7 separate regions of the Homo sapiens genome follow, and all the other regions are linked to region 3. The links are contacts of gene promoters, found by promoter capture Hi-C in blood cells and fetal thymus (Javierre and others, 2016). All regions are on one chromosome and are shown on one strand. Each heading gives the region's core, a stretch centred on a gene start or on the middle of the fragment in contact. The rest is flanking DNA. Distances are from core to core; before and after follow the strand shown.

Evidence for each region. The method cuts DNA at HindIII sites, captures the fragments that hold promoters and counts their contacts. A CHiCAGO score of 5 or more calls a contact.
Region 1: a contact is called between a fragment that was not itself captured here and the fragment with the promoter of ZCWPW2 in region 3, in 3 of 17 cell types (naive CD4 T cells, naive CD8 T cells and naive B cells). The highest score is 5.9, in naive CD4 T cells.
Region 2: a fragment that was not itself captured here is called in contact with the fragment with the promoter of ZCWPW2 in region 3 in 8 of 17 cell types (total CD8 T cells, activated CD4 T cells, total CD4 T cells and 5 more); the score reaches 8.6 in total CD8 T cells.
Region 4: a fragment that was not itself captured here is called in contact with the fragment with the promoter of ZCWPW2 in region 3 in 5 of 17 cell types (non-activated CD4 T cells, monocytes, naive CD8 T cells and 2 more); the score reaches 7.6 in non-activated CD4 T cells.
Region 5: a contact is called between a fragment that was not itself captured here and the fragment with the promoter of ZCWPW2 in region 3, in 1 of 17 cell types (monocytes). The highest score is 7.6, in monocytes.
Region 6: a contact is called between a fragment that was not itself captured here and the fragment with the promoter of ZCWPW2 in region 3, in 3 of 17 cell types (total B cells, naive B cells and non-activated CD4 T cells). The highest score is 7.1, in total B cells.
Region 7: a contact is called between a fragment that was not itself captured here and the fragment with the promoter of ZCWPW2 in region 3, in 1 of 17 cell types (naive CD8 T cells). The highest score is 5.4, in naive CD8 T cells.

The regions. Positions count from the first base shown.
Region 1 is chr3:27,449,525-27,453,269 of GRCh38, reverse strand. It overlaps SLC4A7 (solute carrier family 4 member 7), which reads left to right. Exons shown (of 26, transcript NM_001321103.2): 2 at 772-853. Among named protein-coding and RNA genes, the nearest start is that of SLC4A7, 33 kb to the left of the region's middle. The HindIII fragment of the contact is 350 bases long and covers 2,202-2,551 here.
Region 2 is chr3:27,393,409-27,397,295 of GRCh38, reverse strand. It overlaps SLC4A7 (solute carrier family 4 member 7), which reads left to right. Exons shown (of 26, transcript NM_001321103.2): 19 at 2,181-2,342; 20 at 2,527-2,778. Among named protein-coding and RNA genes, the nearest start is that of NEK10, 26 kb to the right of the region's middle. The HindIII fragment of the contact is 601 bases long and covers 1,179-1,779 here.
Region 3 is chr3:28,346,844-28,350,412 of GRCh38, reverse strand. ZCWPW2 (zinc finger CW-type and PWWP domain containing 2) reads right to left here and starts at 1,692. Exons shown (of 10, transcript NM_001040432.4): 1 at 1,210-1,692. AZI2 (5-azacytidine induced 2) reads left to right here and starts at 1,589. Exons shown (of 8, transcript NM_022461.5): 1 at 1,589-1,812. RefSeq lists enhancers at 983-1,062, 1,101-1,395, 495-1,475, 1,663-1,722. The HindIII fragment of the contact is 7,230 bases long and covers 1-3,569 here.
Region 4 is chr3:27,589,084-27,592,704 of GRCh38, reverse strand. No RefSeq gene overlaps it. Among named protein-coding and RNA genes, the nearest start is that of SLC4A7, 110 kb to the right of the region's middle. The HindIII fragment of the contact is 187 bases long and covers 1,235-1,421 here.
Region 5 is chr3:27,532,543-27,536,484 of GRCh38, reverse strand. No RefSeq gene overlaps it. Among named protein-coding and RNA genes, the nearest start is that of SLC4A7, 50 kb to the right of the region's middle. RefSeq lists a silencer at 2,333-2,627 and enhancers at 1,995-2,938, 2,939-3,881. The HindIII fragment of the contact is 3,030 bases long and covers 1,059-3,942 here.
Region 6 is chr3:27,422,447-27,426,344 of GRCh38, reverse strand. SLC4A7 (solute carrier family 4 member 7) reads left to right here. Exons shown (of 26, transcript NM_001321103.2): 8 at 2,193-2,308. Among named protein-coding and RNA genes, the nearest start is that of NEK10, 55 kb to the right of the region's middle. The HindIII fragment of the contact is 6,675 bases long and covers 1-3,898 here.
Region 7 is chr3:27,500,740-27,504,541 of GRCh38, reverse strand. No RefSeq gene overlaps it. Among named protein-coding and RNA genes, the nearest start is that of SLC4A7, 18 kb to the right of the region's middle. The HindIII fragment of the contact is 3,495 bases long and covers 804-3,802 here.

The DNA of each region.
Region 1 (3,745 bases), core at 1,127-3,626, 900 kb after region 3:
TAATAAGTTAATAATAAGTAGTTAATGATGATTAGAATGTCCTTTTGAAAGTTATTACAAGTTGAGAAGGGAAGTTAAAGCTAAAATTTTATCCTCTTAAAAATAGCCTATACAACATTTTCTAATAAATATGTTTAGTCTTTTTGTTGAACTGAAAAGAGAACAAAATTATGAAGGTGGGATTTTCACAACTGCAGCTAGAATTTCCCTAGAGGTTAAATTTTGGCATGAATTTTACTTTGGGGGAAAAGAAAAAGTTCTTTTAACTTTTGTTAGCTCTTGATTAATCAGTTAAAGTGGTACTGCATGTTGAGTCTGCTTATTTTTGACAATTTTATGTTTGACCATAATTCAGTCCAGTATAGCTGTTTCCTGTTATTTAGGAGACTTAAGAGCAAAGATCAAGAAAGAAAGCATTACATGTTGACATCTAAGGATTCCTCTCACATCACATTTTCTTTAATCTCTGACCCTAGAAGGTCTGTCTTTTGAGGATGAAATGAATATATTACCAGTTATTTGGTAATTTGCATGGAAAACCATTTAAAAATCTTTGCCATTTCACTTCTCACTCTGGGATTTTTGAATGGTCTTCTGTGGATTTAAAAAGCTTGTAAACATAATTTTAAAAGAATGCAATTAGCTGTAATGAGTTCAGTTATTTGAGAGAAAGCAGTCTGTTTTATATTTTGTTGCCATTTCAAAGGATGCATATAATAGGTCCTCAATAGATTGTGATCTCATGAGTCAATGAGAATAATTTGTTTTTAGGGTCCTGATGAAGAAGCTGTTGTGGATCTTGGCAAAACTAGCTCAACTGTGAACACCAAGTTTGAAAAAGAAGAACTAGAAAGTAAGTTGGTTTAAAATAACTTACTTCGCTTAGTAGGATAATTTACTAATTAATGTTTTTAAGTATCCTTTTAAGTTTTACCTAGTATTTGTTGAGTTTTTTTGTTATTGTTGTAAGGTAAAGCGTACATTGAGAAGAGTGCCATTTGAAAGTATTGGCAAAAGATAGAGTTCATAATGCTTCTCAAAATTTAGTGATGGTTACCATTAATTACCTTAACTTGGAAAACTGAAAGGACACAGTCACAAAATTAGTTAACTCTTATTTTTTTCATTTCTAGCAGGCTGAGTAATTTGTGTTATGAGTACACTAGAGTGCCAGACTAATAAACCACAGTTATCATTAATTGTCATCTCAACATTCATTTTATAGGTGTTACATTAGCCTTTTAAAATGTTGCAATAACCTCTCCATAGAGTTGTAGAGCAACTGAGTTATTTGCCCATCTTTCTTCCTTAGACAGGAAGAAGTCCTGGCAAATGGTTTCTTTTCTTTTGAAAATAATTTTAGATTTACAGAATAGCTGCAAAGACAGCACATAGTTCCTCCATACACTTCACCCAGTTTCTCCTAATGTTAACATTTTGCGCAGCCATCATACATTTGTGTAAATGAAGAAATTAACATTGGTTAATTACAAATTTAATTAGAATCTGACTAATTACTAGTTTACTGTTAAACCACAGATTTTATTTAGGCTTCACTAGTTTTTCCACTAATGGCCTTTTTCTGTTCTAGGATTCAGTTGATCCAGTTGAGGATCTGTAACAGTACATTTAGTTGCAAGTCTCCTCAGTCTCCTAATCTATACCAGTTTCTCATTCTTTTTTTGTTTTTCATGACCTTAACACTTTTGAAGAGTAGTGGTTAGATATTTTGTACAGTGTTTCTCAGTTTGGGTTTAGTCTGATGTTTTGGCATGAGTAGGTGGAGGTTATGGTTATTTGGGAAGCATACCACAGAAGTAATGTTCCCTTTTCAGTGCACCATATCTGTGGACAATATGATATCAACATGACTTATTATTGATGATGTTAACTATGAACATGTGGTTAAAGTGGTGTTTAAGGCAAATATTTTGATAGACATTTTTGGGGGATGTTTATAGGAACTACATCCTTAAGTTAAACTCTTCTGTGAGAGCTAGTACTATATTGAGTTATTGTTTATTTTAATAAAAAAGAGATGGACAGAGAAACAAAGTTTGATTTATGTTGTAAATGTTTTCATTTATATTCTAAGACTTTTTTTTAAACTCTAAACGATTTTTTTTTTTAACTCTAAAAATTGGCTTTAAGAGCCTAGGCTTGTTAGGGTTTCCAAAAAGAACCTCAGTTATCTAGAAGCTTATGGTTAGATCCTGTGAATTATAGGAGCTAGGGAGGTTAAAATTTTTAGCGGTAATTTTACTAATTCAAATGTACAGTCATACATTTAATGTTTAATGTCAACCCTCACCTATACATAACCTGGATATTCCTTCGATTCCTTTGGTTATCACAGGCCCTAAGCTCTGCATACTTTGTACACATCTTCAAGTTTGGTATCAAGTTTGAGGGAGAGATTAAGTTTAAGAGAGTTTGAGTAAATAGGCTTTTGATAGAATAAAGTAAGGGCAGAAGAAAAAGGAAAGAAAAAGAAAAAGATTAAAACAGAGGACACTAGAGGCAATAGTAAAAGAAGAAAACACAATAAGCTTAATCTACCAATCTTTGGATTCTAGCGTGTTTTTATTTATTTTATCTATCCCTTTCTTTCTAAACTGCACACTCATAGCATTTATTTTTATCTTGGTGCATTGGGGCTTCTGTGCCAAGACCCATTAGTACTAATTGGAGGAACAACTTTGTAATTCCCAGTGCAGTGATGGGAATTTGACTCTTTAATTTCCACTTTTCTTTATGTTTTGAAGGAAATAGTTTCATTAAAATAAAATTGAGTTTTTTTATATTTATTTCTTATTACTTTTTAAATGAGATTCACATAACATAAAATTAACCATTTAAATTACACACTTTTTTAAATGTATTCACTATATTATGCAACCAACACCACTGTCTAATTCTCGAAACATATCTATAATTCCAAAAATAAACCCTGTATAATTAGCTTTTACATTTGGAATTTTTGTTTTCTAGTAGTTGAGATTTAATTCCATAGACATTTATCGAGTACTTACCATGTGCTAGGCTGAGTACTGGGAGAAGTTTAAACAAATAGTTCAGTATGTTTTGTTAAGTTGTCCCTCTTTTAATTTAAAAGGTGATTATTTATGAGGTTAATATATTGGCAGCTGAAATAAGATGTCAGAGTATCACATTTTTAAGCCTTACCTGGGAACATGAGTGTCAGGCAACTCAAATTTTATGCTGCTCTGTGCCTGTCCGAAAAATGGCATGAAATCTCCCTAAGTATTGATTTTGTGGTTACAAGTAAATGTTAGTGAGTCAGCAACTTCGCAAATATGGAATCCCATGAATAATGAGGATCAACTGTACTTTCAAGTCACATATAAAGATGGCAGTCCTAAGTTTCTTGAAATACTTATTTTCTGAGCATTTTATGGAATTTTTAGGAAAGGAATGTCATTAATCATTTGTATTTCAGCCTATTAACTTTTTAAATTGTGTACATAGTTGCAGATTAGTTGACCTTGTACTTCACATCCCTCTTCACTCAACACTCATTTGATATTTGACATAGTGCTCCTAGCTCTGTAGCTTTCCTGATTCAGTTTCATCTAGTGGTCAAAAACAGACTGCCTTTCATAACTATTTTGTTATTATACTGCAAAGTTAGGATAATGCAATATCAGCAGTAGCTTTTTCTAGTTTAAAAGCATGCAATAACTTTACTTACTGCTTTTTTATTTAATCTGACAGTTTCTAACCT
Region 2 (3,887 bases), core at 230-2,729, 950 kb after region 3:
GCCTGTAATCCCAGCACTTTGGGAGGCCGAGGCAGGTGGATCACTTGAGGTCAGGAGTTCAAGACCAGCCTGGCCAACATGGTGTACTAAAAATACAAAAATTAGCCAGGCGTGGTGGCGGGCGCCTGTAATCCCGCTACTCGGGAGGCTGAGGCAGGAGAATCGCTTGAACCCAGGAGGCGGAGGTTGCAGTGAGCTGCGACCATGCCATTGCACTCCAGACTGGGCAATAAGAGGGGAACTCCATCTCAAAAAAAAAAAGTAACCTAAAATTCAATTTTCTAGGAGTGGCAGAGAGGGTCTAGTTAAATTTCTAGAAGGGTAGTATATCTGACAGTAGTTGGAAAATTCCATGTAACAATTTCCAGTAGCATAAGGAGAAAACGAAGTGTGTTCTATAAGAAAAATGATCTGAGCATCCATTTGAATTTTCTGCTTTCATTAGCAGATTTGAATATATTCATTTTCCTTCTGCTCTGTTTTTGTTTTCTTCCATCCTCCTTTGCTTATGCTAAAAGGAAAGACATTGTGAATAGTGTCACTGGTTATATTTAATTTAACAAGTTATATGACTTCTTTCAGAAGCAGCTGGTTTAAAGGGGATCCGAAATAAGGAATATAATGAAGATCATTTTATTTTATATTATAAAATCTAATTTTATAATATTGCACTGAGACCAAAATGTTATTTTTAAAATCAGTGGTCTTTAAAGTAGGGTACACAGGTGGAAAATGATCTGCCAACAATTTTTAGAAAGTCTTATGTTTTTAATGTAAAAATATGAAAATATTAAACTTTAGGTTTATTTTATGAGAATATATAAATAAATGAAACTATGAATTAATATTGGTTCAAAACGTGATGTAATTTCCTGTAATCCTGGCCTAAGTTCCTTATTCTGATTCTTAAATATGTCCTTGTTATTTATTTACTGATATGGCTTTCAGGTAATAGGCTGATTTCAAGGGGCATAAAATATACTTGAGGAAGCAAATCAAGGAACTCTTAAGAGTAAATGGCATTGTATAAGTAGAATAAAATATTTTTGTTCATACACAACATTGAGTGTGAGGTAGTTTAATATATATTAGTGTGGAAAGATTGAATTACCTGAACTTTGAAAGTATTAAATTTCCCTTTTATATTGACAAATGTTTTCATGAAGAAGAAACAAGCTTAATACCAAGTTGAGGTAATAAAAACATATGTTTAGGTTTCTATATATGCAGTATTCTCCCAAACATACTAAACTCTCTTGATCTTTAAAAAAAAATTGCTATAAAATCTTACATTGTACTGTCAAAATGTATTAGTATCTCATAAAGTGCCAGATTTTTGTTAGTAGTTCCTTTGGAAATACCATGTATTGTGGACCAGTTCTGATTTAGTACTGACCCTGTCAAAATCACTAAGTCTGCAGGACTAGACTAAAGCAGTTTAGTTTAGGAGTTTAGTGGATAGATTGATTTCACCTTATATGAATTATGCAGGAACATGTGGAAATGACATTCCAGTTTGCTTATCAATTTCTACATAACAAACTTTTGAATAACAGCCCTTTATTTGTTTATAATTCTGTGGCAGTTGAGACTAGGCTTAGCTGGTTTGTGGTCTGCTCTGTGGGGTGCAGTCATCAATGGGGGCAATATGCCTTCATTCATATGTCTGAGGCCTCAGCTCAGATGGATGAAACAGCTGGAATAGTTGCCTGGGGAACCGCCCCCGACACCCACTACCATATAGACTATATTGAGGATAGTCTTATCCTCAAGAAAGCTTATCTAGGCTTACTCGACAGCGTAATAATCTCAGGGTTCAAAGCAGGTTAGAGAAGAAGCTGCAAGGTTCTTTAAGGTTAAGACTTAGAAATCACATAGTGTCACTTTGGCCTTATTCTGTGGGTTAAAGTAAGTCACAGGGTCATCCTGGTTTCAGGGGGGAAGGAGGCAGACTCCACCTCTAGGTGGAAAGATTGACTGAGTCAAATGACAGGAGGTATAGTTATAGGGATAGGAAGAATTACTGTGGCCATCTTTGAAAATAATTCACCATGTAGTTCAAGATTTAAGTTATTTCCCATTCGTTGGGTATTTCTTGGAACAGATCAAGTCTATGTTATGGAAATTTAGTGCAATACAGCAAGGAGACTTTTTGAAAATTATATTTAATTTTTTAACAGCCTACTCATCCAGAGAGAGGGTGGATCATAAGCCCACTGGGAGATAATCCTTGGTGGACCTTATTAATAGCTGCTATTCCTGCTTTGCTTTGTACCATTCTCATCTTTATGGATCAACAAATCACAGCTGTAATTATAAACAGAAAGGAACACAAATTGAAGGTAATTTTAGAATTTTGCCTTAAGCATTGTGATTCTTCAAGGGTTTGAGCTGTTTTTGTAATGATTAGAACATTAAAAGATGTAAGATGAAAATTAGCTTCTTCCCTCTTTATAATTCGTGTAGAATTTTAAATTGAGGGAACCATTTAGACTTACAGATATTTATGTTCATTTCACTTTTCAGAAAGGAGCTGGCTATCACCTTGATTTGCTCATGGTTGGCGTTATGTTGGGAGTTTGCTCTGTCATGGGACTTCCATGGTTTGTGGCTGCAACAGTGTTGTCAATAAGTCATGTCAACAGCTTAAAAGTTGAATCTGAATGTTCTGCTCCAGGGGAACAACCCAAGTTTTTGGGAATTCGTGAACAGCGGGTTACAGGGCTAATGATTTTTATTCTAATGGGCCTCTCTGTGTTCATGACTTCAGTCCTAAAGGTAAAATTTCTTTATTGCCGTGTTTTACAATCTTATTATAACATTTATACTTAGTTATGTGAACATGAAACATTAAAATATACTTAAAATACCTAAAATTAGGTTTGTTTTCCACAGTTTACTTGGGAAATAATTTCATTAGGTTTTTAGTATAGCAAGCATTTCAGTGGTAAGCTGTATATATTTTTAAAATAATGTATACCAGGTGTAGTGGCTTACGCCTGTAATCCCAGCAATTTGGGAGGCCAAGGAAGGAGGATTGCTTGAGGCCAGGTGTTCAAGACCAGCCTGGGCAACATAATGAGACCCTGTCTCTATAAAAATAAAAATAATTAGCCAGGTATGGTGGCATGCTCCCGTGGTGCCAGCTGCTCAGGAGGCTGAGGTGGGAGGATCGCTTGAACCTGGGAGGTCAAGGCTGCAGTGAGCCGTGATTGGGCCACTGCACTCCAACCTGGGTGACAAAGTGAGATCCTGTCTCAAAAAACAAAAAAAATTATAATATGGCAAATATATGTATAAAACGCTCATAAATAAAAGTATTTGTGGGGGAGGGGAAATGACCTCAGTAATTTTTAAGAGTATAAAGGAGTCTTGAGACCACAGAGTTTGAGAGCTGCTGACCTAAAGTTGTGTCTTTCACCTATGACTCCATCCTCATTCTGTCTTCCATCACATCCCTCTTGTTGGCTTTTATTTTTAATTTTTTTATTATTGTAAAAGTCGTTATTAACATTTACATTTTGTGCTATGATGATAATTAAGGCTTCCTTGCATCTCCTGTAAGTTAGATTATAGAAATTTAAACCCTCTGGGAACACATAAATGATATTACGATGGTATTTGCTGGGGACTAAGCAGTGTGATTGTGAGGACTAAGCAGTGTGAGTTGCCTGCAGGGAGGCAGAAATATACTCTATTTTACTCCAGCCCAAGCCTGAAGACCAAATAAGTCTTTCTAATATCTGCTACCTTCCCTTACTGTAAAAAAATTGTATATGCAGGTTCCCCTTTTTCTTGTATTCATTTTTTGTATTGATAAATTCTTTTTACACATGGTACCATTAGCGGTGAACTTATTGAGAGTTCTTGCATATTTCAAAATGTCT
Region 3 (3,569 bases), core at 443-2,942:
TTTATGACATTTTATCTTTACTTACTCAGAAAGAAAAGATAAAAATGATGTCCCCTGCCTTTTCAACAATTCTTAAATTATTTTAAATTGTGAACGAAGATTCAAAAATATTTCTACACCTTCAAATTAAAAACCAGGTTACCACTTTATTTCTAATAACTTGTGATGCCTCAACCAATTTTGCTAGCATTCTTCAAAACTCTACTTGTAAAAACATACACCTAATGGTTGTTTTAAATTGAAAATTCTCAAAATGCATCATGGAAGCAATAAAAAAATTTAAGGACTGATACTTGCTCAAAATATTAAAAACACTGCTCTCTTCCATTCTCCAGCCCAGTAAATTGAAGCAAATCGTTTCCTTTCTCAACGATAACATTAACACAGATTTCTAAGTATTTTTAGAAATGTCATAAAACTTCAACTTGTGGTCTTTGTTCCTAACAGCTATAAATTTTCACTTAAATCTAAACCAAAAAAGACAATAAAAAAACCAACAACAATAAAAACGAATTTTCATATAAACCCTTGAGTGAAATCCATCCTATTGGGCTGACAGTTGGGCTGATAGTTAAGCGGACAGATGACAAAATACTACTTTAAGGGGGTGGTGAGTAATGTCCGTATTGCTAATCGGCGGTTAGTGACGTTAAATTTTCTATAATTATTGTTCCTTGTTTATTTGTTTATTTAACCAATAATACCTTAGAGTTACAGGGGTTCCACCTGGCTGCGACCTTCAATGACTAATTAATTCAACTACTTGTGACTCCACAGCTAGGGACGGTCTATCATCTAGAAATAACCAAGGTGGTGGCAACTCCAGGGAAGCCGGGCGCAACTCCAGTACTCTGGCATCTTCTCCCTGTCTCTCATTCCATAAATTGAGCAGTGTGCTAGAAGTCGTGGTGTCGTTTGTGAATAATTACAGACCCCTACGCAATTCGTCGAGCTTGTGCCTCAAGTGATCGCCTGAGGGCTTGCAAGTAGTTTAGAAAACAGAGGCTACAGAGGAACGGCTTCTAACAGACTTCCCAGTTCCCAGCCACGTCAGCTCGTAAGCCTGTAACAGCGCTACTGAGCCGAGCCAGCACGCACCACACGGCCCGGGGACCCCCCAAAAGGACACTGAGTGAAAAAGACGCACCAGAGGGCGCCCCTGAAGGGGGACCTCGGCCCAACAGACAAGACGGCTGGTAACGCTCTTACCTAACTCCACTCCGCCTCCGCCTCCTGGCGTCCCGCGGCCCCGCCCCGTCCCGCCGCGGAGGCTCACGGGACATGTAGTACGCCGCGCGCCACTCCTGCACTTCCCCACCCCCACGACCGAACCTGGCTTCGCTAACGCCCTCCCAGCTCCCTCGGGCCTGACTTCCGGTTTCCTCGCGCGTCCCTGGCGCCGAGCCCGCGGACAGCGGCAGCCCCTTTTCCGGCTGAGAGCTCATCCACACTTCCAATCACTTTCCGGAGTGCTTCCCCTCCCTCCGGCCCGTGCTGGTCCCGACGGCGGGCCTGGGTCTCGCGCGCGTATTGCTGGGTAACGGGCCTTCTCTCGCGTCGGCCCGGCCCCTCCTGCCTCGGCTCGTCCCTCCTTCCAGAACGTCCCGGGCTCCTGCCGAGTCAGAAGAAATGGGACTCCCTCCGCGACGTGCCCGGAGCAGCTCCCTTCGCTGTGGAAGCGGCGGTGTCTTCGAAGAAACCGGAAGCCCGTGGTGACCCCTGGCGACCCGGTTTGTTTTCGGTCCGTTTCCAAACACTAAGGAATCGAAACTCGGCGGCCTTGGGGGCGGCCCTACGTAGCCTGGCTTCTGGGTGAGTGACTCGCCAGGGACGGGTGGAGGATAGGGATGCGGGCAATGCCGCGGCCAACCTCCGTAGCTGTTGCCGGTCCAAAAAGACACGTCATTTTTTTCTCACTCCCTCCCGCGCCCCCTCCTTTGACTAGGGAGCGGCCCACTCCTGGGCATCCCTTTCCCCAGTCACCCCCACACCCAGCTGTCCACACCCTTTCCCCTGTCACCCTCACCCCCAGCTGTCCAGGCCCTTCTTGGTCATTCACTTCTCTAATTACTCCTTTTCTTTTCGTACTCTTACTGGGGCGCCTTCAGTTTTTTTTCATTCATTGAGACTGCTAAATGCTTCTTTCCGATACAAATTATCGGAAAGAAAAGAGGGACATTGGCTAGGACGGTACTCCCTGGGGCATCTGAGTGGTGAATATCGACCCCCTGCACTTGATCGAGGGCTAACAGGTATTCGTCGTTTCTCCAATGTCTAACCTGTATACGGTATTCATTCCAGCCTTCGGCTGTTTGTTGAGTAACTACTACTACGTGCAAGGTAGGCTGACACCCTCTACACAAAAGAAACCCCAATACTCGAAAGCGAGATAAAATACCCACGAAAACTCTAGTACAAATCAAACCATCAGTTGCTCCAAGAGGTGATGGAAATTTGCTAAGGTGATCAAAGACAGACGTACCAGAATTAAAATTGACCCTTGCGCCTTATGTGTAGAAGACATTTTGGTTTTTAGATTGGAATTTCAAATTGGATTGAGCAAGATCTCAAGGCAGAATTTCATTTCTCTAAAAACGCCATATCTCATTGCCCAATCTTGTGATCATTTCATCATCTGTAAATTGAGAACAGTGCATCCTTTACAGGATATTTCCAAATTTTAATGTGATATTGTTTGTAAGCCAGACATCTTACGCAAGTAGAAGGTTTTAATATTAAAGAGACAGCATAACATAATGGGAAATGACACTGGATTAGGTCAGAACACCAGTATCTGAATGCTGATTTTTCCATTTACTTGACAATGGGTAAGAGGCTAAACTTTTTCTTCATTTTCCTTATCTCTGAAATGGGTGTAATACATACTCTAAGGCACCAAAGCATAGTTTCTAAGAGTTATGCTGGCTCTGGAGTCAGCTGCCTGATTTTCATTTCTGGCTCCCCTACTTTCTAATGTTTTCATGTCTCAATTTCTCCACCTGTAATCTGAGGAGATTCTTTACAACCTCAGAGGTATTACATAGATTTACTGAATGCTTATGAAGAACAAATGAGATAGTTTCTCCAAAAGGTGAAGCACACTGCTTGGTATACCATAAACGCTTGGCTACTATTAATTACCAATGCAGAACCTTGTCATTATTATTAAGTAAAATGCTGAAGTTTTTTTTATAATCCATGAAGTAATAGAACCAATCTTTTTCTTTTTTATGGCACTTATATTCAGAGTGCAAGTATAGTTGCCTTATCACTGTTAGAAAATAATTTTCAATAACACCAGTAACATTGAATGTATAGTAGATGCTTAGTTGCATTAGAGGTATTACTGTATGAAAGGGATGAAAAGAAGTAGACTGCTCTTCATACCTATGCTAACTCTGGAAGAGTCTTGATCTGTGCAATACAAACTGATTTCTGGACTAACGCAGTTTGTTGGATAACTCAAGAGTCATAAAAATGGAACTGGAGTTTTTCTTCATATTGTATATCTAATGTTGAGTACATTTTTGGACATTTATTGAATTACAGGGCTTTTTATTGCTAATGTA
Region 4 (3,621 bases), core at 79-2,578, 760 kb after region 3:
TCCTGACCTCGTGATCTGCCTGCCTCGGCCTCCCAAAGTGCTGGGATTGCAGGCGTGAGCCACTGTGCCTGGCTCTTTTTTATTTTCTTATTTTCTTTTGAGACAGAATTTCACTCTTGTCACCTAGGCTGGAGTACAATGGCGTGATCTCAGCTCTCTGCAACCTCTGCCTCCCAGGGTTCAAGTGATTCTTCTTCCTCAGCATCTCAAGTAGCTGGGATTACAGGCGTGCACCACCATGCCCAGCTAAATTTTTTTTGTATTTTTAGTAGAGATGGGGTTTCGCCATGTTGGCCAGGTTAGTCTCAAACTCCTGACCTCAAGTGATTTGCCCACCTTGGCCTCCAAAAGTGCTGGGATTACAGGTGTGAGCCACCACGCCCAGCCAGGTGTGGATTTTCAAAAACAGCAAAATCTGTGGGAATCTAGTATTTCTCTCTAGATGAAGTAATGTCATTGAATATAATTTAAGTTGTAGTGTAATTAAAGATGGTATAAATGGCTCTATTCTTCCCATGCTGACATTTTATCCCAAGCCCTTTCTTCGGGCATCATTGGTCAATGATTTATGGGTTTTCCATGGCTTCCATATCTTGTCTATCACCAACTGGTTTCTGAGACATGAGTGGTTTACCCCGGAAGTGATTATTCAAATTCTGTGGCTGCTGGGCTTTGTTCTTACATCTAATGTATTCAGCTAGATTCTGCTCCAGGAAGAGATAACAAAAATTACTGAAACAATTTGTAAGATGCAGCCAGCTGCATATTGACCTTCAACTCCCACGAGTGTCCCTGCCAAAATGATACAGTTACTTAATTTCCAGAGTCAAAATTATCAATAAAGCCCAAAGGCTTTCTCTCAATAGACAATGGGTATGTGTTTCGGTGTTTGGGTGTGGATGTGTGTTTGTGTGTCACAAAGAGAGAGACTTTCACTCAAAAGACAAGGTATGTGTGCATGAGTACATGTGTATTAGAGAAAGAAAGAGAGAAAGAGAGCAATGAAGACAGAGCACAGCTTTGTTAGAATGGTGAGGGGAGACCCAATGTTAGTTTGCTTCCAGGACTTGATGGAGATTATTGGTTTTTCTTTGAAAGCCCATTCCTCAGCCTAGGTAAAAGCTTTTCCTAGTAGACCGTGATTCATTAACATCCTGTCCTTCTGGGGAGGAAAAGACACGAAAATTTAAGGCAAGATTCCAGGCTGGAAAAGAGCTGTTGTTGAGACAAAGCTTTGATGGAAGGTGAAAGCAGGCCTGGAACCATGTGTGTCATAGTGATTATTTTTTATGGCTCAACGTCAAAATGCCTCTGCTACTTGTTAGTTTGGGGTTTGGTGGGACAGAAAAGAGGAAGGCTATGAGGAGAGTAAGGAACAAAGAGGGAGAGTTTGCAGAAAAATTTTTAGAGCAATTGAAGCTTGATAATACTGGATGTGTCCTGCCTTTTCTGTTGTTGCTTTCATTTGTTGAAGCATTTCATAAGTAGATCACATGTTCACAATAGAAAAGTGAATCTATTATGCAAAATGTCCCAGTTGGAAACTCGTAAGTTCTGAAGGGAAAATACTCTTTTTCAGCTTAATTCCCACTGGCAAAATTTCATACAAACAGACTGCTGTGTGACTGTTTGGAACTGTTGACTAAACCAAGCTCTAAGGGAAATGAAAGTATCCTTTCGTCTGTGCACAACCACTTCTTTATTTTTCCCTTTGCCATTTACCAACTTAATGCATCTGTGTTGACAGCTAAAGACTGATGATTAAATTAGACAACAGTTCCTATTACATTTTAAGATTATGTTAAACACTTGAACATATTGCAATTCTCTAAGGCTGAAATGACTCCTGTAATCTTTCATCAAGATTTATAATCACTATTTCCTTCACTGACAGTATCAAAAAGCTACAGTGGTCAGGGAATGTTCCAGCCACATTGGCAAGAGGATATGATTATATTCTCCAGTGGAAGTTGTAACTTCCGGTTGCCTTTTTCCCTGTGAAAACAATGATTTCCGGTTACCTTCAAGGGTACTGTGACTTTATGACACATCACTTCAGAAAACCAGCTCTGTGGTTGTTGAAGGTGACCCAGGAGAGATGATGAATTTCTCTTTCTTTGGAAATCAGATTTTTCTCTCCTCGAAGACAGAAGAGGAAGTAACATTCTAGGCCAGCACCCATTATTGTGCAAGAAGACTTGGATTTTATCAAAAGTGATGATTAATTGAATTTACATCTCTCAGCATGCACCTCCCACTCCAGGACTGATTTTTGTTTTTCTTTACAGAAAATTTATTTCTCCTTCTTCAACCTTGCATTGTGCATATAGCCATTGAAAACAAAACAGTCACCAGTGTTTTCCATGAAGGCTTTTGCTGAAAAAGAAATCAGCCTCTTCACACTTTTATGTTATCAACAGAGAAGAAAAGAGATGAGAAAGCCAGAAAGATGAATAGCATTCCTATCTTTCTCATTCTTGCTTTTCTTCTCCTGTTAGTGTTCATTCTTTGGCTCTTCTGTTTTTACTTTTTGCTGCATTTATATCTTCTTTTTTGTTTTCTATCCCTTTACTTTGCTTTCCCTTCCCAACCCACACACCTCCTTTGCTCAGGAGGAAATCTCCTCTCCTGGGAGGAGCAAAGAGATAGAATAGAGAAAAAGCATGCAGTAACAGCAATGGAATTCTAATGTTCTCACTCATATGTGGGAGCTAAAAAGTTGAGCTCACAGAAATAGAGTAGAATTGTGGTTACTATGGGCTAGGAAGGGTGGGGGATGGGAGATAGAGATTGGATACGGAATACAAAAGGACAGATAGATAGGAAGAGTAAGCTCTAGTGCTCTATAGAACTATAGGGTGACAATAGTTAACAATAACTTATTGTATATTTTCAAATAGCTAAAAGAGAAGATTTTGCATGTTTCTCTTTTTTTGACATAGAGCTTCGTTCTGTCGCTGGGATTACCAGCATGAGGTATGGCACCCTGTGGATTTTGAATGTTTCCAAAACAAAGAAATGATAAATGTTTTGAAGTAATAGATACACTAATGAACCTGATTTAATCATTACACATTGTATACAGATATCAAAATGTCACGTCGTACCTATAAATATGTACATTATTCCATGTTAATTAAAAATAAAATAAAGCCAGGCACAGCGACTCATGCCTGTAATCCCAGAACTTTGGGAGGCCGAGGCGGGCGGATCACTTAAGGTCAGGAGTTTGAGACAGGCCTGGCTAACATGGCAAAGCTCTATCTCTACTCAAAATACAAAAATTAGCTGGACTTGGTGGTGGTATGCACCTGTAGTCCCAGCTACTAGGGAGGCTGAGGTGGGAGGATCAGTTTAGCCCAGGAGGAAGAAGTTGCAGTGAGCCGAGATCGAGCCACTACACTCCAGCCTGTGTGACAAAGTGAGACTCTGTCTCAAAAAAATAAAATAAAATAAAGCATTTTGCCCACTTACAAAAATGGATTGTTTTAATCCAAATTATGTATTCTGAGTATAAATGTGTATTCTAGATATAAATATATCTAGATATAAATCTTTTATCAGATTACCCTTTCTTCCATTCTATGGGTTATATTTTCTTTTCTTTTTTTTTTTTTTCCA
Region 5 (3,942 bases), core at 1,324-3,823, 810 kb after region 3:
TGAGAACATCTCATCAGTCACTTTTCTGAGAAAAGATACCCAAGGTTAAGTGAGATAAGAGCAGAATTCTTCTGAAAAAGTGTTAACAAGTCAGTCTGCCAGAGTCTGATCCCAGGTCTTCATGTTTTTCATAGAATTTTAATTTTAATTTTTTTTTTTTTTTTTTTTACAGGCAGGGTCTTGCCCTGTTGCCCAGGGTGGAGTGAAGTGGTGCAATTGTAGCTCAGGGCAAGCTTGAACTCCTGGGCTCAAGTGATCCTCCCACATCATCATCCTGAGTAGCTGGGACTACAGACGCACACCACCATATCTAGCTAATTTTTAACCTTTTTGTAGAGACAGGGTCTCACTATGTCGCCCAGGCTGCTCTCAAGCTCCTGGCCTCAAGTAATCCTCCTGTCTTGGTATTCCAAAGAGCTGGGATTAAAGGCAGGAGCCAAACAACTGGTCACTTTTTTGAGAGAATTTTTAAAGATGTGTCATGAATACCAGGCTAGTTAGGCATAAAGTCACAATTAGGTGTGTGTGTTGTTTTGCTTTGGAATGGGCCTGGGGCATCTTTCAAATGTATATGCCCACAAGTAAATGGGTAGTTCAGGAAGTTCTTTTGTAATATCCACAAATAATTATCCTTAAAAACAAGTAACTGAGACATTAATGAAAAAATATTCTGCAAACACTGAAGCCTTTTATTTTAAAATGTCAAGGTCTCAGGAATACAACTCCAAGTTTATAATCTTTATTTTCCACTTAGTGGTGATATGCATTATAATTTTTTCTCCCCTAAATGAGAATGCTTTGAATCAAATAATACTTCTTCCTTCCGCTGTGTCTGTGCCAACAGTGGCAGCTGAGTTCATTTTCATTACCTCAGCATTGTTACCAAGAGTTTAAATAGGTTGACTAACATTTGGAACACCAGGACAGAGGCTCTGTTTTTCTGGGCTTTGTAAAATACCTAATATAGTGACAATATGTGGGCATACAGATATATTGTAATTATATACTAGAAATGACACAGAGTACCTAGACTCCTCTGGGTAGAAAAAAGCCAAGCTTTGATTTCCACACTCAAACCAGCTGAAAAGTCAGAGCTTTTTTTCATTTGTAATTCCTCACTTTCTGAAAGCAAACTGAAATGCCTGTGGCCAAATGCCTTCTCTGAGTCAAATCCAGGTTGAGTCCTCCATGAGCTCAAAACCTGCTCTGTGTGTGTGTGTGTGTGTGTGTGTGTGTGTGTGTGTGTGTGGTCATCTTGATTTCTTTCAACCATCTTAAATGGCTTGATTTATTGCCCAATGTCACTGAAATAAAAACTAGCCGTTAGGGTAGCCCAAATTGTCAAATCACTGGTTTTCAAGCTGCTGTTTTTTGGTTCCTGGTCCTGGCATGACACCGTGACTTTATAGAACATTCTCCATTGTAGAATTCTGGGTGGTCTTGAGGTCCTTTCCCAGTACTAAACGGTACCAGGCATAGCACCAATGGGAGGAACATCAGGAAGATGTCCTTTTTTTTTTTCTTTTTTTTTTTTCTGAGACAGAGTCTCACTCTGTCTCCCAGGCTGGAGTGCAATGGTGCTATCTCGGCTCACCGCAACCTCCACCTCCCAGGTTCAAGTGATTTTCCTGCCTCAGCCTCCTGAGTAGCTGGGATTACAGGCGTATGCCACTACACCTGGCTAATTTTTGTATTTTTAGTAGAGACGGGGTTTCACCATGTTGGTCAGGCTGGTCTCGAACTCCTGAACTTGTGATCTGCCTGCCTTGGCCTCCCAAAGTGCCGGGATTACAGGCGTGAGCCACCGCACCCGGCCGGAAGATGTCATTTCAAAGCCATGTTGTTCTTTCAGATTCTAGAGTTGATGGTTAACACTGGCAGTCCCTCCTGACTGCCCTCCCGACGCACACTCCCAGGCTAATGAGGAAAAGTCCTAGAGAGCAGCATCAGATGCTTGTTCATGTATAGAGTTTGGTCAACATCACCAGCCCCGGCCCTCCTCTAGCTGACAAACAGGCAGTTGTCTATTTTGGCTTTGACTAGACTCTACTTCCGTTTACCTCAGTCATATCCTTTTTAGATTTGTTTCTCTCCCTTCCCCCACCTTCCTCTTTCCCACTGTTATTTATAAACGTTATACACTTGTTTACAGAGAAAAGAACAAACTTTAAAATTAATTGTTGATACAATTGCCAAATGAATAATGTCCAGGTGTCCGCTTTTAAGCATCACAGGCATCTCTAGTCATCGCTTTTTAGTTGTTACCCTAGGATTGAGAAGACCAACAGCAGGAAAGGTGGTGACTCACACTCAGAACCCAAAAAACAAACACCCACTAATGACTCACACCCTGGAACCAGGGAGATTTTGAGACTTTCTTTTGCTGAAAAAATGCATATGCAAACAACATTCCCATCACCAGGAGGCCAAGCTGGCTCTTCCTGCACGGAATGGGGCTCTGCTGAGGTGGCTGCGAGTCAGGGATGTGTCACCGACCCAGGGATGGAGTTTACTGGGTTAGTAGATGGAGGGCAGCTAAAACTAGAATTTCTTCTTTGCTTTTTTCCAAATGCCTGCTGGAGAAAATCCGATGTATCCTGTGTGAGTCAGTTGTGAGTGTATCTGCTGGGATAAGGGCAAGTTAAGTCACCACTCTCCATCCCCTCTGCTTGTTTTAATTGTGATTTTAATTAGCACGCAGGTCATCTGAGCAGAGGTGTGGCCTTTCATCTGAATGTGGATTTTCTGTCTGTGTGGTCCTTGATTGGCTACTTGGATCTTATAATGATAAAAGAATTTTTAAAGTACCTTTTCTTTCCAAAGTTTAGGGCTTTACTGAACTTTAAATATAAACTTAGGGCCCTCTGTTTATATTTAGATAAAAAAAGAATTGTGAAGATAAAGGATCTTTTGTGGCAAAGTGCTTTGAAACCCTGAGATGAAAGGGAACCCGTAAAGAGAAATTAACCTCATTTATTTTTTAAGCAGCATTTTGCTGCGTGTGTGGACAAATGTAATTTGAGGCAGCTTGAATTAAGAGCCTTGTCTTCACTCCACTCATAACCCTCCCTGTCTCCAACTGAGTCGAAGCACCTCTTTTTTCTTTCACTTCTCTATTCCTCAAGCCAGAGCTTGTCTGGTAGGGAAGGCAAATTCAGGCTTGTAATCCATCCTCTCCCCCCAGGTCTGACTACTCCCTGGCTGGACTTCCGCAGGGGCACCCAGTCCCCTTTGTGGAAGATCCAAAGCTCAACACAGAAAGGGAAAAGCAAGATGTGTGGAGTGGGAGACTTGCTTGGCTTTGCTTCCATTACTTTTGAGAACTCTCATTACATTCCTGAATCCACTGATGCATAGGTGGCAAAGCATTCAAAAGCGCTTTGGGGCAAGACTACTATTTAACTGAGACACACTGGTACCACCACGCCTATTACTAAAATATTAAAATATTTATATTTTGATTTGTAAATAGCCATTGCCCATGCCTTCACCATTGTCAAATATTTTTAATTGTACCAATTGTTTGTAAGCTAGGAGAGGGTTTACCTTCTTAGTTTCACACAGTGTTTAGCCTATCTTGTATATACTAATATGCATATTATGCATAGTATTTGAAATGCATATACTAATTGGTTAGGGGAAGAGAATGCAAAATTCCAGCTGCGTTTTTAGGCTGTCAGGGTAGTGAGAGACCAGTTTGGAGTCTCCCTACAAACTGTATTTGAGTGCTTCTAAGACAGAATTTAGAACTCGAGTTCTCCCATTCATTCTCTTTGGGATTCTGAACCAAGGGAGGGCACACAAAAGGATCGGTGACTGGATAGGAAACAATACCCTTCTACTTAGGAAGCACCAGCTGAAGGCCTAATAACCTCTGGGAGTCTGTGCTGGAGGCAAGGCCCAGGCCTGGGGCTAAAGTTCTCTACTTTCCAATCCGGAGAT
Region 6 (3,898 bases), core at 238-2,737, 920 kb after region 3:
TAGGGACAAAGGTCAAAGAAGAGGAATCTTCTTGGTGTGCCAAGCTAAGGTTGTAAGAAATGAGTTGAGGCTTGGGAAATCGTTTGTATTTCGGAATTGTTTAACTTTTCCAGAAAGTGAGCACATGGCTAAATAGATTGCAAATTAAGATTTTTCGTCACATCAACATTGTAGTTTAGGTATTTACAGAGAAGTGACGATGACAGCAGTCTCTGTCATAAAGCGTAAGCCGTAAACCCAGATGACTTAGTTTCAGTATTCATTGGTTATAGTATATTCTGTTTTACAAAAGTGAAAACTCCTTTAGATGTGTCAGGTATATCTGATGTACTTTAAATTCTGGAACTTGATTACCAGTACATCTTCAGAGCTTATAGAATCTAACCACAAAACAGATTTTAACTGAACTTCCATGTGTTGCTGTGCATGGGACAGTTAAAACAAAAAGTAAAGTCTGTTGTATTTCAGTACCTTTTCCTCCTATAATGTTCAGTGTTTTAGGAATTATTAGTCTATATTCTTGCACTAGAAAACCTTGGATGTTTTGAAAAAAATGAGATGCATTTAATATTAGGTTGGAGCAAAGGAAATTGCACCAACCTAGTAGTAGAAATCTGTGTAGTGTACTTGAATTTAAATTTTTTTTTTTTTTTTTTTTTTTTTTTTTTGAGACAGAGTTTTGCTCTTGTTGCCCAGGCTGGAGTGCAATGGTGCAATCTTGGCTCACTGCAACCTCTGCCTCCTGGGTTCAAGCAATTCTCCTGCCTCAGCCTCCCGAGTAGCTGGGATTACAGGCATGCTCCACCACGCCAGGCTAATTTTGTAGTTTTAGTAGAGAGGGTGTTTCTCCATGTTGGTCAGGCTGGTCTCGAACTCCCAGCCTCAGGTGATCCGTCCGCCTTGACCTTCCAAAGTGCTGGGATTACAGGGGTGAGCCACAGCGCCTGGCCCTTTTTTTTTTTTTTTTTTTTTTTAGGACGGAGTTTCTCTCTCGTTGCCCAGGCTGGAGTGCAATGGTGCAATCTTGGCTCACTGCAACCTCCGCCTCCTGGGTTCAATCGATTCTCCTGCCTCAACCTCCCAAATAGCTGGGACTACAGGCACACGCCATCACGCCCGGCTTATTTTGTATTTTTAGTAGAGATGGGGTTTCACCATGTTAGCCAGACTGGTCTTGAACTCCTGACCTCAGGTGATCCACCCACCTCTGCCTCCCAGAGTGCTGGGATTACAGGCATGAGCCACTGCACCCGGCTGAATTTGAAATTTTTTAAATTTTAACTTTTTTGCAGAATTAGAATTCATAGTGTTAATGATTAGTCTCATATTAAGCTGTGTTTTTATTATTGCGAAATGTTGGTGTTGAATGTCACTTTTGAAATGAATATACTAATGCTTCAATATGTGTCTGTCCTTTGAAATCCAAACAAGTATCATTTCTAATCCAAATAAGCTATTTTTATGAGTTTGTCTGACTCTTAGAGATGGAGTGAGTTTCTTACAGTCACATAGATACAAAGTGGCAGAGAGTGCATAATTTAAACACAGATCCCTTTGGTTATAAAACTCTTACTCTGCCAATTTCATTGCAAAAAACTTGCTTGTTATATTTTAAAGTTGGATTTCTTAGGAGTAATGACAATAGGTATTATAGACATAAATGTTAACAAAGAAAAATGAAAAGTCTTTAGGAAACTTCTGATTATGGGAGATTATGTTAATTCAATCTGCATTTAGTTAGTGTAGCTTTTTTCTGAGTTACACTTAGGGTTTGTCAGAGAATTTATTGTTGAAAGCATGCTAAGTACAGCTAGGCTTCATTAAGTTCCATGCATTTCACATGTTTATGATAATTAAAAGTATATTCCCTAAGTATTTTTAATGATAATCAGACTCAGGTCTTCCATCTTTTGTGGTTCACACCAACTCACGTTTTATTTCTTTTTGCAAAAGGCCACAATTTTTGTAAATTCTAATTGTATTATTTTAAATATTAAAATGTATAGCTTTGGTATTGCTTAAAATGTTGTTCTAGTTTTGCTGGTATGTTACTAACACCGGGCACTTATTTTTTTTAACCTTGCACATTTGCTTTTATAATATTCATAAATCATCACTTTCAGAATGTGAGCAGAATCAGGTTGCAAAGTGAATTTTCTCCTTACTAATTTGGAATTTGTCTTTAAACATAGGTATTTTGGCCTCTCCCCAGTCTGCTCCTGGAAACTTGGACAATAGTAAAAGTGGAGAAATTAAAGGTAATGGAAGTGGTGGAAGCAGAGAAAATAGTACTGTTGACTTCAGCAAGGTAATTCTATCATTAACTGAAAATTCTCATAATTATTCTTACTGAGGAAATAAGTAGTAATTTGTGGCTAATATTATTAACATTGATGATAGTAATTTTTTAGTAGACTGGTGCTTACAAACCTGCATGTGATGTCTGTGATATGTTAATTTAAGGTAAAAACTGTGAGAAGGGTTACAGTTAACCTGTGAGTACTTGAATAACTTTACACCATTACTAGTGTTAGAAATTCTGAAAAAGAATATGTGAATAATACGATATTTCCATCCATACCTACCCATAGATATCGTGAAACGTCAGTACTTTTTGAACTACAGTCATTTGTTCTGGAGCTACCACCACTAGAACGTTAATTCTGGGAGTGATGTTACAGCACTAATGATTCAGTCTTTCCTGGGCTGTAATGCGATCCCAGAATTACTGTCTTATGGTGTCAGTACTTTTGGAATGTCACTGAGAAATATATTGGTGCTTCCCCATGGGTAGGTTAAAGGCATGGATTACAAAAAAATACCTATGTGAACTATGATTTTTTTATTTTGGTAAATGAGTATTTTGTTGAAATAGATAAACCTTAATTTAAAAGAACAGGGCAAAAGACTACTAAGTTCAAATTGTAACTGAATGTAAAATGTACTTTATGAGTATTTCTTATGAACAATTGATTCTATCTAGCCACTAATTTTTTAGTAGTATTAATTTGCTATAGTAAAATACCAGATGCTCATGGTATTTTAATATTTTTGTATCCAGTATAAGACTTTTTAATAAATGTAATTATGTCAAGCTGATTTCATTTCTTAAGCCTTTTAGTCTTTGATGAAAAGTCTACAAGATATATTTTACAGAAAAGGAGTTTAAATGGTTTGCATTATAGCTTTGTTGAGTGTTGTAGTCTAAAACTATAGGAAGCCTAGCATTACGGACATTGGCTGTGCAGAAAGGCTGTTGTATTTTAAATTTTTCTGATCTATCCTGATCACATTTTACTGGTGCTCATGTTATTTCAGATAGTGCAAAGTACTTAGTAACAAAATTGCAATTTATTTCTTGTTAAATGAATAAATTAATATAATTTACATTATAGAGTTCCTCTAGGCATGGCAGTTGCCGTTTATTTTTGTTCCTCTGTCACAGTCTTACTTTTTTTTACTTGGCCTATCTTTGTGTATACTTCCTTGTCTCCTGTTGGGCAGGAGTCTGCCTCCTGGCACTGTAGTTGTGGCACACTGGGTGTGGGACTCAAGAGGCCCGCTGTAAGTGCTGGTTTTACTTTTCATAGATAGCCCTGTAAGTGGTTGTTTAGTGACTTGTGTGAAACTGCATATAAATGAAGTTCACATAATTTGGTATCATGTGTAACCTTTTCCTTGTAATTATACACAGAAAGCTAAATTTTACTATTATAGCATTATCATATATCTGTGCCAATAAGGGCTATAGATTTTTGTTTTAAATAAAAACAAGGGGCCAGGCATAGTAATTCATGCCTGTAATCCCTGTGTTTTGGGAGGCTGAGGCAAGAGAATCACTTGGCCAGGAGTTCAAGACCAGCCTGGGCAATATAGCAAGCCCCCCACCTCTACAAAA
Region 7 (3,802 bases), core at 1,302-3,801, 850 kb after region 3:
TTCAGCAGTTGTCCTCTTATACTTAATAATTTATTTTTGAATTTGTGTTTTGTAAATGAAGACCAGTGGAACAATGGAGCATGCACCAGGGGTTTGAAGTCTAGGCTCTAGCCTGGTTCCACCTCACTGGATGCTCTCCTGCCCCTACTCAGTGACTACTGCCATCCTTCTACATCCCCACACACCCACCAACAATCTGGGCACAGGAGGAGCACTATGACCACCTGTGGAGTCACTCACAGAGTCTGCAATGTCTGCAAGGGTCTGCAAATATCCACATGCCCAAGGGAACACGACATTGACTAGCAAATATAAAACATAATTTCAGGTTGAGAAGGAGACTGCAGAAGAAAGAAAAATACTTTTTTCTTGCTTTCTGAACAAGGAGTTTTCCATTTTCATTTTTCACTGGGCCCCACAAACTATGTAGCAAGCCCTGGTTCTCAATGAGTATTTGTTGAAAAGATTAATCAGAGTAATTTGATGAACCAACTGCATGTTGTTTCTTCAAAGCAGTCACCTAGAGAGATTTTCCAACAGTGTTGTCATTTCTTAAAATACTTTGGAACTTTTGAGAAAGTCACTCCTTTGTTTAACAGTTTTTTGAGCATCTACTATGTGCCAGATTCTGGTGTTAAGCAGTGAATTATTCAGACAAGACTGGAAAATCTATTCTTGGAATTACTTTGGAGTGGACTTACTTTTTGAAAGTAGCCAGAAGTCTCTGGGGATCACATTTGGCGAATAAAGTGCACTATAAAGCTAAATAATAGCAATCATATGACTTGAGACTAAAATAAGCTTTATAACAATGAAACCACAAATTAAACATATTGGGTTTCTTGGCCGGGCATGGTGGCTCATGCCTGTAATCCCAGAAATTTGGGAAGCTGAGCAGGGTGAATCACCTCAGGTCAGGAATTCGAGACCAGCCTTGCCAACATGGTGAAACCCTATCCCTACTAAAAACACAAAAATTAGTCCGGGCGCAATGGCTCATGCCTGTAATCCCAGCACTTTGGGAGGCCGAGGCAGGCGGATCATGAGGTCAAGAGTTCAAGACCAGCCTGGCCAACATGGTGAAACCCCATCTCTACTAAGAATACAAAAATTAGCCGGGCATGGTGGCAGATGCCTGAGGTGGGAGAATCACTTGAATCCAGGAGGCGGAGGTTGTAGTGAGCCAAGATCATGCCACTTCCTTCCAGCCTGGGCCACAGAGCGAGACTCCGTCTCAAAAAAACACAACAAAAAATTAGCCAGGTGTGGTGGCGCACTCCTGTACTCCCAGCTACTTGGGAGGCTGGGGCAGGAGAATCGCTTAAAGCTGGGGAGGTGGAGGTTGCAGTGAACCAAGATTGCACCACTGCACTTCAGCCTGGGTGGCAGAGTGATACTCCACCTCAAAAAAAAAAAAAAAAAAAATATATATATATATATATGGGGTCCTTATATGAATTTATAAAATTATTTTAAACAAACATTGAAAATTATTTCTTTCCTTTTTTTTTTTTGAAACGGAGTCTCACTCTCTCGCTCAGGATGGAGTGAGTGGTGCGATCTCAGCTCACCACAACCTCCGCCTCCTGGGTTCAAGCAATTCTCCTGTCTCAGCTCCCCGAGTAGCTGGGATTATAGGTGCATGTCACCATGCCCAGCTAATTTTTGTACTTTTTAGTAGAGATGGGAGTTTCACCATGTTGGACAGGCTGGTCTCAAACTCCAGACCTTGTGATCCACTTGCCTCGGCCTCCCAAAGTGCTGGGATTACAAACGTGAGCCACAGCACCTGGCCAAAAATTATTTCTTAATAAATGTAGAGTATCCCAAGGTTACTACCTTGATGCAGAAATTACAATTTAAATGTAGAAGTTCTATAGTAAATATCTTTTTTTAAAAAAAAAACTTTTTTTGGTCAGTTCCATTTTTCTATATTGTCATTTCTATTTTCTTTCTTTTTTTTTTTTTTGAGTCACAGACTTGCTTTGTTGCCCAGGCTGGAGTGCAGTGGCGAGATCTCAGCTCACTGCAAACTCTGCCTCCTGGGTTCAAGTGATTCTCCTGTCTCAGCCTCCTGAGTAGCTGGGATTACAGGTGCCCACCACCACACCCAGCTAATTTTTGTATTTTTAGTATAGATGGGTTTTCGCTATGTTGGCCAGGCTGGTCTCGAACTCCTGACCTCAAGTGATCCCCCCCACCACCTTGGCCTCCCAAAGTGCTGGGATTACAGGCGTGTGCCACCACACCCGGCCTGGTTTTTTATTTTCTTAAACATTACTTTTTCACATAATCCCAGACACAAAAGGAATCTGCAGCTGGCCAGAATGTGGTTATTAGGAATAACCTATTTCCACAATCACATTATTCTCATAATTTCCACCATGACTTGTTTGCTGATTTATTGGAGCTTCCAAATTATGATTTTGTTCATTTCTTGAATCCTTGTGATAATCTATTTATTTTGCAATACCTTCTCTATCTAGGCCAGACACAGGCTTATTAGCTGTGTTACCTTAACTTCTTTATGCCTCAGCTTCCTCATAGGATTGTAGTGAGGACTAAGGAATTAACATATGCAAAGACCTTAGCGTACTGCTTGGCATATGGTAAATGCCACACAAGAACTTTATTATAGGCCGGGGTGTGTTGGTTTATCCCTGTAATCCCAGCAGTTTGGGAGGCGAGGTGGGAGGATTGCTTGAGACCAGGAATTGAAGACCAGCCAGGCAATATAGCAAGACCCTGTTTCTACAAAAACATATTTAAAAATTAGCCAGGTGTGGTGGCATGTGCCAGTAGTTCTAACCACTTGGGAGGCTAAGGCGGGAGGATCGCTTCAGCCTAGAAGCGCAAGGCTGCAGTGACCTATGATTGTGTCACTGCACACTACTCTGTTGTCCAGGGGAGTGCAGTGGCTCGATTTCAGCTCACTGCAACCTCCGCTTCCTAGGTTTAAGCAATTCTCCTGCCTCAGCCTCCCAAGTAGCTGGGATTACAGGCACGTGCCACCACACCTGGATAATTTTGTATTTTGGGTAGAGATAGGGTTTCACCCTGTTGGCCAGGCTGGTCTCGAACTCCTGACCTCAAGTGATCCACCTGCCTTGGCCTCCCAAAGTGCCAGGGTTACAGGTCTGAGCCATCATGCCTGGTCCCAATAATTATTATTATCTGGCCTTATGCATCTAGGTCAGAGGTAAACAAAGTTTTTCTCAGAAGGGCCACATAGTAGATATTTTAGGCTTTATAGGTTAGATGATCTCTGTCACAACTATTCAACTCCACCATTGTAACACCAAAGTCAGCCTTAAATAATACATAAGTGAATGAGCATGGATGTGTTCCAATAAAACTTTATAAAAACAGGCAGCTGGTCAGTTTTGGCCCATGGGCTGTCATTTGCTGATCCCTGACTAGGCCTTTTCAACTAAGGTTTGCATGTGGATGGCTGGGAAAGGCTTAGCCAGGAGTCAAGAATGGAGGAGCAACAGGACCCCAGTCATCTGAAGCCCAGGTCACAGTAGTAACAGGCCTCTGTAGATATTATGGCCAAAAGTAAGGGCAGAGTTGGCATCCCCATGGACAGTGGAGGTAGTGGTGCTGACAGGCTACAGCTGGAAAACAGGAAGATGACTCCATGTATTTCACTTTCCAGAATTAGTTTTGTCCTGACAAATTGATTCAGTGAGCATTTTATAAACACCTACTCAGTGCCTATGTATGTAGAAGTTTACTGTTGATCTACCTACGCAAATGCCATATTTCAACCAGCTAATATTCAGTAGCCATCTCTAATTTA